Regions from separate parts of the Homo sapiens genome. Here region 2 is linked to region 1. Evidence: promoter capture Hi-C in human tissues and cell types (Jung and others, 2019). All regions are on one chromosome and are shown on one strand. Each heading gives the region's core, a stretch centred on a gene start or on the middle of the fragment in contact. The rest is flanking DNA. Distances are from core to core; before and after follow the strand shown. Region 1 holds the start of CCNH (cyclin H). Region 2 has its middle 84 kb from the start of TMEM161B.

Region 1 (7,636 bases), core at 1,334-3,833:
AAGATATAAACTAATCAAGTATACCTAAAACTCTCTCTGAATCTTTGACATCTCAGATGAAAAAAAATTGTAAATTCTATGGACTTAATATTTTCAACATACTTCAATTTTTTTTTCAACTATAAAAATGGAGATAATTTCCTAGAAAATTATTCTCTACTGGGTCGTAAGCTAGTCACGCTGTATAACTTTAAAACTTAACAGACTTTTACTTAAGATATACTTTTATATTTGGTCTTCACAACAAACCAGTGAGAGAATAACGTAACAACATTTTGAACACCCTCCCACTCTACCTTTTTTATCTTTCTGCTTTTTAATCTCAGCTACCTGTTTCTCCTCACGGTTGCCCACCCCAGCAAAAAACAAATAGGTCCTCAGAACCATACATCTGAAACAATAAGGCAATCTTTTTCACCAAAGATAAAACTCCAGCTTCTACTAATCAAGGCTTAAAAAAATCTTATGGTATCAGTTTCAGCTGGGGCATATGATTACCAATGATGAATGAATGCATTATTTCAAACATTTATTGGGTGTCACAGAGTTGGAAAAGCAGTAGTCTATGTTCTAGTCCCAGTCCTATGGCTCATTAGTTGAGAACTTAGAGGAAAGTAATTTATTTTTTTTCTTTCTTTATGACATTACCTGACCTCAAATTTTTTTCTGACCACAAAGTGAGACTTGAAATACTTTTGAAGATATGATACAGCAACTCATGATTTAAGGCCTGTATTGAAAAATATATAATGTGCCAAAAACTAATTAATTGTAACTAAGGTGAATTTTTAAGACTTGAGTGGACAGGGAATTTAGAAGAGGTCAAATTTCACAAGCCAACTAAAGGACATTATATTTCATCACCACTGTAACTTACCACAACAGATCTTGGCATTGCTGGCTTAAACACCGAACAGAATTCCAATAACCTTTTCTCATAGTATTTGCAGAGTGTCATTTCTTCATGAGGCTCAAGAAAGACTGGATCATTCGGAAGAACCTTTAGATCAACAATTACAACACAAGTTCAATGAATTCAATGAATTAAACAATTGTAAAACATTTTTCTCTATCTAGATTAAATTTAGTTTATATATCCAACGAAGGGTATATATCACGCCTCATTTTCTTTATAGATTCGCTAATCATTACACAAAATAGCTGTAGGAAAATATTTAATAAACTAAAACTGTACCATCATTTCACGACTTTTCGGAATGTCAGCTAGACCTTTGCTTCATTAAAGTATAAACAATCATGACAGGCTGTGTGCACATGCTCACAGTTGTGATATCATTATTTATAAATTAAAAAGTAGACAGACTTTTTAAAATATGATTGGAAAGCTTCCAACATCCGTTTCTCGGTCAGTCATTACGTCACAAGTTGTAAAAAAACAGCAAATGTTTCAATAAATTTCTGTTATTTTAAGCTACCCAGTTTGTGGTGATTTTTTTAAGGCAGCCCTTAGGAAACTAATTCAGGTGCTAAAATCAGTGATATGAAATAGATGTGAATTAAAGGTAGAAAGTAAAGTAACTCAGTATCGGTAATTTGGAGGCACTGAACACTTGCTGGAGTGGAGCTTGCAGGAAAGATTAAACCAGTCCGAGAGCTGTAACAGAAGGAACTTGGCTAGCGGGCCATAGTCCAAACCATCTTCAGTCACTTGGTTTGTACTTGGTCTCTGGTCTCCCTCCCTCATCCAACCCATTCACCACGAGGTTGCTAGAGCGCTGTTTCCAGAACGGAAATCTGATAAGGTTAGCTTCCCATTTTAAATATTTCAAAGGTTCCTCATCCTTTCAGTGGAAATGTTAAACGCCTCACTTCCACTTACAAGTTCCCTTCCTACCCTCCCCAGCCATTCCTGCACAGGTACTCAACTTCGGCCACATACGACCACAAACACGTCCACGCACCATCTCTGTAACTTCTGACCTCCCTCCCACTCTGAACGGTGGTTCTGACTGCCTGGAACTTCCTTTCCCATTTTCTCCGCATTGGCTACTGGGAAAAACCTTCCCCAACATCATCTCTTGACAAGTGAACGGCTCTTGCCACGCACTACCTTAGCACACTACTTACTCTCTTCTTCACTACGTTACAAAGACTGGTTACTTGTCTGCCATTCGACGACGGGGATGGCGTTGTTCGTCTTTGTACCCACGGAACCTGGCAAGGTGCTCGCTTATTTTGATAGAAAAACGCACTCCGCGCCGCAGAGGCAGAGAAACGACGGAGCGAGATTGTCCTGGGAGCCAGAAGAGCTCCCGCAGCTGCTCAGAATTTAGTGACCGGGCAACTGGGCAACCGTTGGGAAAACCTCACCTTCCCGTTGGCCACGGCTTTGCATCTGAATTTGCGGTTGGCGTCAGCCCGCAGTCTTGCCAGCTGCTCCTCGCTGGAGAAGGTCCAGTGCCGCTTCTGACTACTGTTGTGGTACATTATGGAATCGTGACCAGGTCCAGAGGGTCTGCAGACGAGAACCCAAACGCATCAGCGTCCTGGCGTAAAACACCCGTACCCCCACCGAAGATCTCGCGGAAGCCTAGGGCGTCCGGCTAGCCGGCGCTGGCGCGCTGTCGTCACGATTACGCGGCCAGCCCGTACGCAGTTGCATTTCCGGAGCGGACTAGGAACAGACCGTATCCCGGGTTCGTTAGGGCGCCCACTGAGACGTAAGTGGGCGGAGCCTAGAGAACGCTCCTCTCGGTGAGTCTGGGACATAGCTCCGCCCCTTCCAGGCAAGATTTAAAGGAGAAGCGCCCGGCAAGAGTGTTCAAGGGGCATAAACTGAGGGTACGGAGTAGGCAGATGTAAATTCACAGGGGATAATCAGAAATGAGGAAAGGATTTCGTAGGGTGCTCATTTTTAAATAGAGGCCTCACTGAAGTTGACATTTGTGAAAAGGCTTGAAAGAGTTGAAATAGTAGGTTGATCAATCATGTAGGGAGATCACGGGGCCCAGAAAGAATAGGTAAGATCTTCAGGCAGAAGCATTCCTAGCCCTTTTCAGGAAGAGTTTGGAGACCAGTATTCTTGAAGCACTACCAGAAATCTCGGAGAATGGAACATGGCTGAAAAACTTGAAGCAGTGGATGCGTATTGGCCCTTACAGTTCTGCCACTTTTGTTGCCTTGTCTGTTCTTTCTCTGTGCTTTTTTTCCTTACCCTTCTGTTGATAACTAGCCAATCCTCTCCCTCTGTTTTCATCTCTGAAGCCAGGATGTATGGTAGTATTCGTTTTATTGAGATTCCCATTTTCATTGCCTCTAGGGAGCCTTACAGTAAGCTATCATGAAAATTAAGGTATTTACTATTTTTTAAATTAATAGGACTTTCAAAATTGCAGGTGAGGTTCAAAATTTACATGGATTCTGGTTTGTCCCATTTAGGCATACCTTATTCTCTCATGTATTTATTATATATCCAATCCGAAAAATGGATTTCCCTATGGCAAATAGCTTTTCTAAAAAATAAATAAATAAATAAAAAGAAAGAGAAAGATGATGAGACCTAGAGAATTTAGGTCTTGAAAAGCCCACACAGGTAAAAAGAAGAAGTGGCAGGATGACTTTAACTCTGCTTTCTATTAAAATGTTTTTAGGGGCTTAAGAAAGGGAAAGCCTTTTCTTTTTCATTTTTGTTGGGTACAGCTGAGGTTAGAGTTTGCCACAGTTATCTGAATTCCTCAAACTTATGCCATTTGTGGTATATAATTTTGGAGAGCCACACACTCAACATATGTGGCTAACCTGGTCTCATAAATTGGCTAAGAAAAGAGAGAAAAAGAGAAGATCAAAGGGCATGGCAAATTGATTACAATGAATTGTGAACAACCTAAAATGTTGCATGTTGGGGAAAGAATAATTTAAAAGAGAAAAACATAATGGTACAAAAGATAGGAAAATAAGTGATCTAGATAATTAAATGTCTATATAAAGTCTTAGCCTCATGACTGTTATATATATCATATAAATTCTTTTCATTTTGTTTTTCTGAAAGATATTTGACAACTCCTTAGTTTTATGTAAAGGATAATAAAAATAGGCATTTAAAAGAGTTGGCAGACTGTGATTTCCACAGAGATATGAGTAAAATTTCTGAATGTCATTTAGGAAAAATATATGAAAAACCTGGCATTGCTGGTGTAATTTTTTTTAAACCTTGAACAAATTTTAGTCCATGAAAATTGACATTGATCTTATTTTTCAGATGTAGTAGGAATTGGGCTCTGTCTAAATTAACTGTCTGAGGAATACAATTGTTGCTGATGCCCTAACATTAAGGCTCATGTATGGTTTTTCTTACTAAGGTAAGCAGACTGGATGCTGTGACAGTCTCCTACTCAGCCTGTTGTGCGACAGTGTTTCTTTGCTATTGCTACCACAGGAGGCACACTGGAATGCAGAACTTGTGCCTTTACCTATTTCCATTTCTAGTTTCAACTAAAAAGTAGCAAGTGTTTCTCTTCACTTCTATTATTTTTACTTATTTATTTATGGAGAATTTCAAATATAAAGAATACAGAGAAACATATTTCAAAAATTATCAATACATGGCCAGTTCCCTTCTACCCTCCACCCACACCTCCATTAGGTTTTTTTCTTCTTCTTCTTCTTCTTTTTTGAGACAAAGTCTTGCTCTGTCACCCAGACTGGAGTGCAGTGGCACAATCTTCGCTCACTGCAACCTCCGCCTCCTGGGTTAAAGCCATTCTCCAGCCTCAGCCTCCTGAGTAGCTGGGACTACAGGCTCATGCCACCATGCCCAGCTAATTTTTGTATTTTTAGTAGAGATGGGGTTTCACCATGTTGGCCAGGCTGGTCTAGAACTTGTGGCCTCAAGTGATCCGCCTGCCTGGGCCTCCCAACTCCATTAGTTTTAAATCACAATGTCCCTGCTACTAAATGAAGATATTTCAAACAAGAACAAACCAACTAACCAGACAGAACCTATTCTTCCTAGAAGACATAGGGAAATTCACAGCTTGTTGACAAAGATATCACTATTTCATTAGACACTACTCAGAAGTGAAATGTTAAGAAATATTTCAATGACTTTTAAAAGTAAATACAATCTCTTTTATTGTGCTGCAGTTGTTAAATTGTGCTATGGTATGTACTTGTAGACAAATTCCAAATATTTTGACTTGCAGGCATTACCTGTAAACTAAGGGTTACCAATCAGAGATTAGGTGATGCCAAGCAGGTGTCATCTGTTTGGCCACCACAGAAATGTCCTGTACTTATCCACGTGCTATTCCAAAATTTCCCATAAGAGTATTAGGATTTCCTTTCTCTTGCTTCAGGACAGTCTTCCTTCTTTGCGGTCTACCTAGTGATCTTAATGTTTAGGGAAAAATAAAAGTAAAAAGGTCATATTGCCTGATCTTAGGAGAAAAGGAAGAAAAGGGGAATTAAAAGGTTGTGGGAGTGACCAGTAAATATGTTTGCAACTGAAATAATTTTGCAGTCTAATATAAAACATCTTATAAAGTGGCCAGATTAATTTGTAGTCCTCATTTCCCAAACACATCAGCATACTCACGTTCACACCATTTCTGATTGCAGGGCCACTCACACACACACACACACACACAAAAGGGATAGAAGAGACCAAACCACATCTATGCTCACAAAAACACACAATATCTTTCTTACTTTAAAATCTAACATAAAACTGTATGCCTTCAGCTACTGACATGGATTCGTGACATTTAAAATACAGCTTTACAATGAGTATTTAATAACCCTTTGCAATTGTATTTGGTTAATACACAATTAACAAATTTGTATTTGCAGCATTGGCTGCAAAATCCTTTCTTAGTTTTATTCTCAGATGTCAAGTTACAACTAAGAGAAGAAAAGGAGTCGCCTGAAGCAAGTACCTGGTTTCTAGAAAATAGAATACTACTAAAGGAAAAGAAATAAGAAGAAGAAATAGCATTTAAAAAATATCGTTGATCTATATGTGACCCCCTCAAAATTGAAATGTTTTTTATTTTGCTTTAAGACTATTTCAAATTAAGGCATAAAGAAGACATGACAACATACTAAAGAGAAAATCCTATAAAGCCATCTTCAATTCAGCAAAAATTAGTAAATCACTATACACAAGGCCTAGTACTAATTGTTAGGTGGTAGTGATACGGTGATGGGGTCACAAAAATGACTATCTCATAGTTCTTGTCCCAGGATCCTTGGACTATAGTAGAATTATGGCATGTACGAATACAATCCCCTCTCAATGACAGTAACCTTGGATAGGGCTGACACACACTCTCTCCTTTGACCAAAACTTTAATCAGGCTTTTCTCTGAGTCCTCTGCTTGACTAAGCCTGATCTTGGGCTTTCCTCTCTATTCTAGTACAGATGCTTCTCGACTTAGGATGAAGTTACGATGCAAAAAAAAAAAACAAAAAACCCATCATAAGTTGAAAATATTCCAAGTGGAAAGTGCACTTAATATAGCTAACCTATTGAACATCATGGCTTGGCCTAGCCTACCTTAAACATGGTCCTTGTGACCGCATGGTTGACTGAGAGCTGCGGCTCACTGCCACTGCCCAGCATCAGGAGCGGGTTTGTATTGTAAATCACTCGCCCGGGAAAAGATCAAAATTCAAAACTGGAAGTGTTTCCATTGAATACATACGGCTTTCGCACCATCATAAAATCAAATCATTGTAAGTTGGAGACCATCTGTAGAATCCAGTTGGAACAAGAATCCTGACACGTCACATTAATGAATATCCCCCACCCTTGGTATCAGACCACCCTCAATATCTTATCACCCTGACCTGCCTTCAGCAATAATCCTATCAGGTCAGTTTAGCCAGAAATCCTTTATCCTTGGTGTTTCCTCTTAGTAATTTTCCATCCATTGCTCCCCAACCTGCTTCTTGGTTATAAATTCCCACTTGTCCTTATTGGAGTTAGAATTGAGTCCAATCTCACTCCCCCACTGCAAGACCTTACTGCAGTGGTCCCGAAACCTGTCTCCATAGCTGACTTTGAAAAGGTCTGTCTCACCATTCTTCATTAATAAAGTGTCATTAATAAAGCATTTTTGAGAAAGTCACTTCAACCTATCTTGCCCTAAGTTTCATCTCTTGCATAGTGAAGAAAATAGTTGTAGCTACCTCATAAGGTGGTTGTGAGGATTAAATTAGTTAATACATGTGAAGATATAGCAGACTGGCTGGCTTCCATAAAATGTTTTAAATTGTTAATTATTACTTCATTGACACATGGCATAGGCTAATTGGAAGATACAACATTTTTGTGAATTTGTATTGATGCTGATGGAGAGGGCACTGTTGGTGGATAGGATTTGCTTGAGTAAAGGCAAAAGGGCACAATGTGCAGGGTGTGTCTAAAGACTAGGAAGTAGAATAGCTTGATTGATTGGAGAATAAGAGGGCTTTGAATGTCAAAATTTTTCAATTGGCGAATGAAATGATCAGAGTTGCATTACTTTAATCTGGAAATTATTTGTGACTCTTTTGATAGTGAGGACTTTATAAAGCCATCATTAAAATAATTGAAATAGAACAGGGGATTAAGTCTATAAGTGATACCCAAATGCCTGTGTTGTTGAACTAGCTACATGAGATTCAGGATTATAAA
Region 2 (7,079 bases), core at 2,476-4,975, 770 kb after region 1:
AATAACATGCTTCATGATTAATGTTTGCTGTTGGTTTTTAGTAGATAATCTTCCTCCAATTAAGGGTGCTTCTCTCTCATCCTAATTTTCTGAAAAGCTTTATTGTGAATGGCTATTACATTTTGTCAAATGCTTTTCCTGAATCATAAGATTTAGTTTAGCTGTTTGCATTTTTTCCTCTCAATCTGATAAATTATGTTAACTGGCTTTTAGATGTAAAATGAACCTGGATTAAATCTCACTTGGTATGATGCATATATCACTAAATTGGATTAGCTAATATTTTTACTAAGGGTATTTACATCTATAATTATGAGAGAGATTGGTTTTTAATTTGTTCCTTTCTTGTAATATGCCTGTCAGATTCTGCAGTCAATATTACCTTGCCTTATAAAAAGAGTAAGGAACCATTCACTCTGGAAGAGTTTGTGCAAAATTGTTATTATTTCTTCCTCAACTATTGGGCAAAATTTGCAGATAAAGCCATCTGGGCTATGAATTTTCTTTGTACAGAAATTTTTAAATAATGGATTTCCTTTACTTAAGATTTTTCTATTTCTTCTTTTGCTGCTTTGGTAATTGCCTTTTCCAATAAATGTTTCGCTTCATTTGTCAAATTTATTGATGTAAGGCTGTTCATAATACAGATTATCTCTTATCCAAAATGCTTGCAACCAGAAGTGTTTCAGATTTGGGGTTTTTTTCTGGTTTTGGAATATTTTTGCATTATACTTACCAGTTAAGCATTCCAAATCCAAAAGTCTGAAATCCAAAATGCTCCAATTAGTACTTCCTTTGAGCATCATGTGGGCACTCAAAAAGTTTTGGATTTTGGAGCATTTCAGATCTCATATTATCAAACTTAGGATGCTCAACCTATATACTCTTCATTTTTCAAAATTTCATTATAATATTTCAAGTAATATTCTTGGAAGGTTGAATTTTACAATGAACACACATGTATGCTTCACTTGGATGCTACATATTTTATGTTTTAAAATGTATCTATCAACTCATCACTCATAGTTCTAGCAATTTATCTTATTTCGGTGGGAATTTTTAAGTAAATTACAGATATAGTTCCCCCTAAATATTCTTTGCATATTATTCGAGTTCAATATGTTTAGTTTTTTTCCTCATAGTTTTTTCCTTTTTGGGTAAAATTTACATTAGATGAAATGCACAAATTTTAAGTGGACATCCATTGAATTTTGACAGAGGCATATACCCATTTAACCCAAATCCTACAAGATATAAAACATTCTCATTCCAGAAAGTTTCCTTATGCCTCTTCCCAGTCAATCCCTACCTCTACCCTTCCTGAAAGTCAACCATTCTTCTGATATTTTCCACCGTACATTAGTTTATTCTAGAAATTTATATAAATTGAATTTACAGTATGCACTCTGTTTTAAAAGACTTATTTCAGCATATTAAAGATTCATCCAGGTTTTGCATAAATCATCAGTTTGTACTTTTTTCACTGCTATTATTCCATTGTATATTTATACCAGTGTGTGTACATATTCTACTACTGATAGACACCTGGGCTTTTTTTAGTCTGGGACTACTTTGAATAAAGCTGCTATGAACATTCTTGACCTTTTTGTAGATGTGTTTTTCTCTTGAGTAAACACATAAATGTAAAATTGCTGGGTCACAGGATAGGTATAAATTTAGTTTTATAAGAAACTATTACAACTTTTTTGCAAAGTAGCCATGTCATTTTCATAGTAGTTGTACCACAAAGTATCAGAGTTCCAGTTGCATCATATCCTTGTCTACATTTAGTATAGTGGTATTTCATTTTGATTTTAATTAGCATATCCCTGATGACTAATAATGTTGAGTTACACATCTTTTAAAATTGCATGTGAATGGAAGCCTGTCTCTGAAAGGAATATTACTGGGGGAATAAAAATTCTCTAAGAAGAAATTAAAATCAGAAGCTGGGGACTTCCTCTTCCAATTAAGGTGAAATTAATAGGGAGCAGATTCATTCCTCTATTTTACAAAACTAAATAACTAAAGAAATTCTACTTGAAACCTTGATTGTTCCAGCTTACTGACTTGATTGTCCAGTCACAGCACAGGGGAAAAACTAAACAAAGCCCAGTGGTCTTCCTGAGTTGAGAATCTGGTAAGGCTAAGGGAACTACAATTGACAGAAAAGAGTACCAGAAAGGAAGGCTGCGGTGTGAGGAAGCTCTATCTATAGAGGTTGAAGGTTCCCTCACATCTTCAGCCAAGTTCTGACCAATGCATGCATTTGAGGAAATTTCTAAGTGTTGGGGAAAGAATCACCAAAAAGGACAGGCAGAATAATCCTCTGGATTCATACATGGATAGGAATAGTGTAATTCCTGTTCCCATTAGCCAAAGTAGGAAAACCTTTTAATACGTGGGGCATTGGTAAAGTATTCAAAAGGGTATTGCCTCAGTATGGGTAAAAATTAGCATGAAATTAAAGTCTGATCTCACCTTAAATACAAGCCTCAAAAGAATCAAAACTGCCTCCTTGGTTTCCTACTGACTTAGTTGGATCCCAGCACAAAGCTCAAGAATACAATTATGCACTGGTTAACGATGGAGATAGGTTTTGAGAAATGTGTCATTAGGCAATTTAATCATTGTGCAAACATCATAGGGTGGATTTACACAAACCAAGATGGTGCAGCCTACTACACATCTATGTTATATGGTATAGCCTATTGTTCCTAGGCTACAAACCTGTGCAGTTTCTTACTGTCCTGAATACTGCAGGCAATTGTAACACAATTTTAAGTATTTGTGTATCTCACCATAGCTAAACAGAAAAAGTATAGTAAAAATACAGTATAAAAGATTAAAAATAGTATACCTGTCTAGGGTACTTACCATAAATGGAACTTGTAGGACTGGAAGTTTCTTTGGATAAATCAGTGAGTGATGAGGGAAAGTGAAGGCCTAGGACATTACTGCACACTACTGTGGACTTACAGACACTGTATACATAGGCTACACTAAATTTACAAAGATATTGTCTTTCTTCAATAATTAATTAAACTTAGCTTACTGTCACTTTTTACTTTATAAACTTTTTATTTTTCAATTTTGGGTTCTTGTAATAGCTTAGCTTAAAACACAAATACACAGAGCTGTACAAAAATATTTACTTCCTTTATATGCTTATTCTATATGCTTTTTACTATTTTCAAAGCTTTTTATTTTTATTTTTTAAACTTTTTGTTAGAAAACAAGACACACCTGCATTAGCCTAGGCCTGCACAGCATCAGAATCCTCAATATCCCTGTCTTACCCTCTACATCTTATACCACTGGAAGGTCTTCAGGGGCAGTAACAAGCATGGCACTGTCATCTCCCATGATAACAATGTCTTCTTCTGGAATACCTTCTAAATGACCTGCTTTTTTCTTCTAATAAGTAGGACTATACTCTAAAGTAATAATAAAAAGTGTAACAAATACATGAACCAGTAACATAGTAGCTTATTATTGTTATTAAGTATAATGTGCTGTGTATAATTGTGTGCTAGGCTTTTATATGACTGCCAGTGCAGCAGGTTTGTTTACGCCAGCATCACCACAAACATGAGCAATGCAGTGCACTACAATGTTATGATGGCTACGACATCACTAGGTGATAGGAATTTTTCAACTCCATTATAATCCTATGGGACCACCGTTATATACCCAGTTCATTGTTGACCAAAAAGTTATTATGTAGTACATTACTCTATTTAAGGAAAAAAATACCTTGTACTCAACAGGCAAAACTCATAATGTCTGGAATCCAGTCAACGATTTTCAGTGATGCAAAGAAGCAGGAAAACATGACCCACAATGAAAAGAAAAATCATTCAATAGACACAAGATAAAATTAGTAGACAAGAACATTGAATCTGCTATTATAACTATATTTTATATGTTCAAGAAAGTAGAGGAAAGCATAAACGTATTTTTAAAGACTCAATTTGAACTTAGTTCTAAAGGTTTTTTAAAATGTCTGAGATTGAAAATTTCACTGAATTAGTTAAATACCAGACAGGATGCTGCCAAAAATAAAAAGACAAATTGAAAACATAGCATAGCAATAAAAACTATCCAAAATGAAACACAGAAAGAAAAAAGAAACCTGGAAAAAAATGAACAGAGCAACAATGAGTTGTGGGACAAATTCAGTCAAACAGACCAAAAAATGTTTGTATTGCTTTACAAGTTAGCAACAAATACAGCTGAATAATCATAAACATGGCATTTCTAATTCTCAAATTGGAGGGACAAGACCAGGAAAATGCTCTTCCACTTAAAACACATTTGTTAAAACTGAAATCCACAACTTCTGTCAAGACCTTCAATATTCTCAAGCAAAATCGACACCTATAAAGAGTCAAAGAAAACTATTAATAGTATCAAGTTTACTCCACATGTCTGAGTATGTAACTGAAAGGTCTTACATGTATTTATACAGGCAGTGCTTTTACTAAACATTTTATGTAGCCATCCTAGGCACTTTTAAGAATATAACACCCTTTAAACACATTCTTTTGCAGAAACAGATGTCAAGAAAATTGTAAAGTCCAACGATGCATTGCAATCAAATTTCTCCTCTTTCCTCAGGAGGAAAAACTAGTCAGCCTTTAACGTGGCCTGAAATAAAAAGCCAATGATCAAAGAACCTGAATGAACCCAAGTAATAAGAAACATAAAACAATACCAAGGATCATCATAATCGAATTGCTAGAGGTTGAACACTTTTTCATGTGCTTAATGGTCAACTGTGAAGTGCCTATTCAAATGTCTCACCCATTTCCTAATCTATTTTTTTTAATTCTTTATATATCCTGATTCCAGTCTTTTGTCTCGTTTTGCAAGTATTTTATTTCAAGTTTTAACATGTCTATTTCCTTTTTTTGATGAGCATAAGTTTTTAATTTCTATGAAATCTTTTATTATTAAAAACCATTTTATGGGGGCCAAGTGCGGTGGCTCACACCTGTAATCCCAGGAATTTGGGAGGCCAAGGCAGGTGGATTAGCTGAGGTCAGAAGTTCGAGACCAGCCTGGCCAAAATGGTGAAACGTCTCTACTAAAAAAAAAAATTAGCCACACGCCTGTACTCAGGAGGCTAAGGCAGGAGAATTGCTTGAACCCAGGAGGCAGAGGTTGCAGTGAGCTGAGATTGTGCCACTGCACTCCAGCCTGGGCAACAAAGTGAGACTCTGTCTCAAACAACAACAACAACAACAACAACAACAAACCAATTTTATGGTTAATACTTTGTGTCCTAAGAAATCTCTATCCACCACTAATTGCCAAACTATGTTGTAGCTTTTACATTTGGCTCTTGAATTGATTCTTGTGTAAAGTATGAGGTGGGGATTGAGGTTCATTTTTTTAAAATGTGGACATCCAATTATTCTAGCACCAGTTGTTGCAATGACTCTCCTTTCCCCATTGTATTGCTTTGACACCTTTGTCAAAAATTAAATGAGTGTGTAAGTATGAGACTATTTCTCAGCTCTCTCTTTCATTGATCCATTTGTTTGTCTTTATGGCAGAATCACAACATCACTTTATAGTAAATCTTCAAATCCTCTAACTTTTTCCATTGCAAAATACTTTGGACAATCTAAGTACTTTACATTTCCATATAAATTTAAGATCAGATAGAAAACTTTTGTTTGAATTTGGTGAAACTATTATTTGGATTGTGTTGAATTTATATAACATTTGTGTTAATTTATATAACATTTATACAACATTGAGTCTTCCAATACATTCATGTGAAACATATCATTTACTTATGTCTACTTTAATTTCTCTTAACATTTTGTAGAGTTCAGTGTACAGGTCTTATACATGTTGGTAAAAAGCTACTTCTAACTTGCTTTTTGACACTATTGTAACAAGAATTACTAATTTTTCAAGTGTTCATTGCTTGTATTCTTACTTTTTAAATGTCTGTAGTCATCTCATATTTTGATTACTGTTTTTTAATTAGCATTGATATGGGTTACTGTTTTTATTTCTCCTTGAACCAATTTTGATAAGAATATAATCAACTTCATTAATCTTTTGGAACAATCGTTTTTAGCTTAATTTTCTCTATTATACATTTGTGTAGTATTTCATTGGTTTTTGCTGAATTATTCCTTTAATTCTACTTTCCTTAGGTTTGATGATCTCTTATAGCTTCTTGAATGGGAAACTTTAAATTTTGTTCTACAATGGGTTAAATAGCATCAAAATTTGATGTCATGTTCTTTACCTTTCAAAATACTTCATAGTTTCTTTTTATTTGCTCTTTAAACAATGAACTATATAGAAATAGAATGCTTAAACTTAAGGCAGTTGAAATTTTGTTCTCTTTCTTATCATTTCTAGCTTAATTCCATGGTGGTCAGAAAACATTACAAATGATTTCAGTATTTTTACTTTTTTTTTGGAGACATGGTTTCACTCTTGTTGCCCAGGCTGGAGTAGAGTGGCATGATCTCAGCTCACTGCAACCTCCGCCTCCCAGGTTCAAGCGATTCTCCTGCCTCAGCCTCCTGAGTATCTGGGATTACAGGTGTGTACCACCATGTCCAGCTAATTTTTGTATTTTTTTTTTTTTTTTAGTAGGGACAGGGTTTCACCATGTTGGCCAGGCTGATTTCAAACTCCTGACCTCAGATGATCCACCCGTCTCAGCCTCCCAAAGTGCTGCGATTACAAGAATGAGCCAATGTGCCTGGTCGTCTTTTTGATCATTTCTAGCTTAATTCCATGGTGATCAGAAAAACATTACAAATAATTTCAGTATTTTTACATTTCTTAATCTATTTTTTATTTGAATGGCCCAGAATGTGGTTGTGATGGTTAATATTGAGTGTCAACTTGATTGGACTGAGGATACAAAAAGTATAAAGGATAAAATAAAGCAGGCAGAAGAAAGTGGAATTGTAGCAGGACGAGCCGCAGAGAAAACTCCTCAGACACTGGATTAAAGAAGGAAGAGGTTTTTTATCCAGCTGGGAGCGTCAGCAGACTCGCATCTTAAGAGCTGAGCTCCCCGAAGACAGAGCTCCTGACCC

What was found. Contacts are between HindIII fragments. The study calls those that stand out against the background at their distance.
Region 2: a contact is called between a fragment that was not itself captured here and the fragment with the promoter of CCNH in region 1, in 1 of the 25 tissues and cell types used here (dorsolateral prefrontal cortex).

The regions. Positions count from the first base shown.
Region 1 is chr5:87,410,347-87,417,982 of GRCh38, forward strand. It overlaps CCNH (cyclin H), which reads right to left and starts at 2,584. Exons shown (of 9, transcript NM_001239.4): 1 at 2,332-2,584; 2 at 878-1,000. The coding sequence starts at 2,448. LOC105379066 (a long non-coding RNA gene) reads left to right here and starts at 2,636. Exons shown (of 3, transcript XR_948543.1): 1 at 2,636-2,715. RefSeq lists enhancers at 2,211-2,340, 2,371-2,540. The HindIII fragment of the contact is 10,921 bases long and covers 1-7,636 here.
Region 2 is chr5:88,181,674-88,188,752 of GRCh38, forward strand. It overlaps a transcript of TMEM161B not described here. Among named protein-coding and RNA genes, the nearest start is that of TMEM161B, 84 kb to the right of the region's middle. The HindIII fragment of the contact is 4,155 bases long and covers 1,649-5,803 here.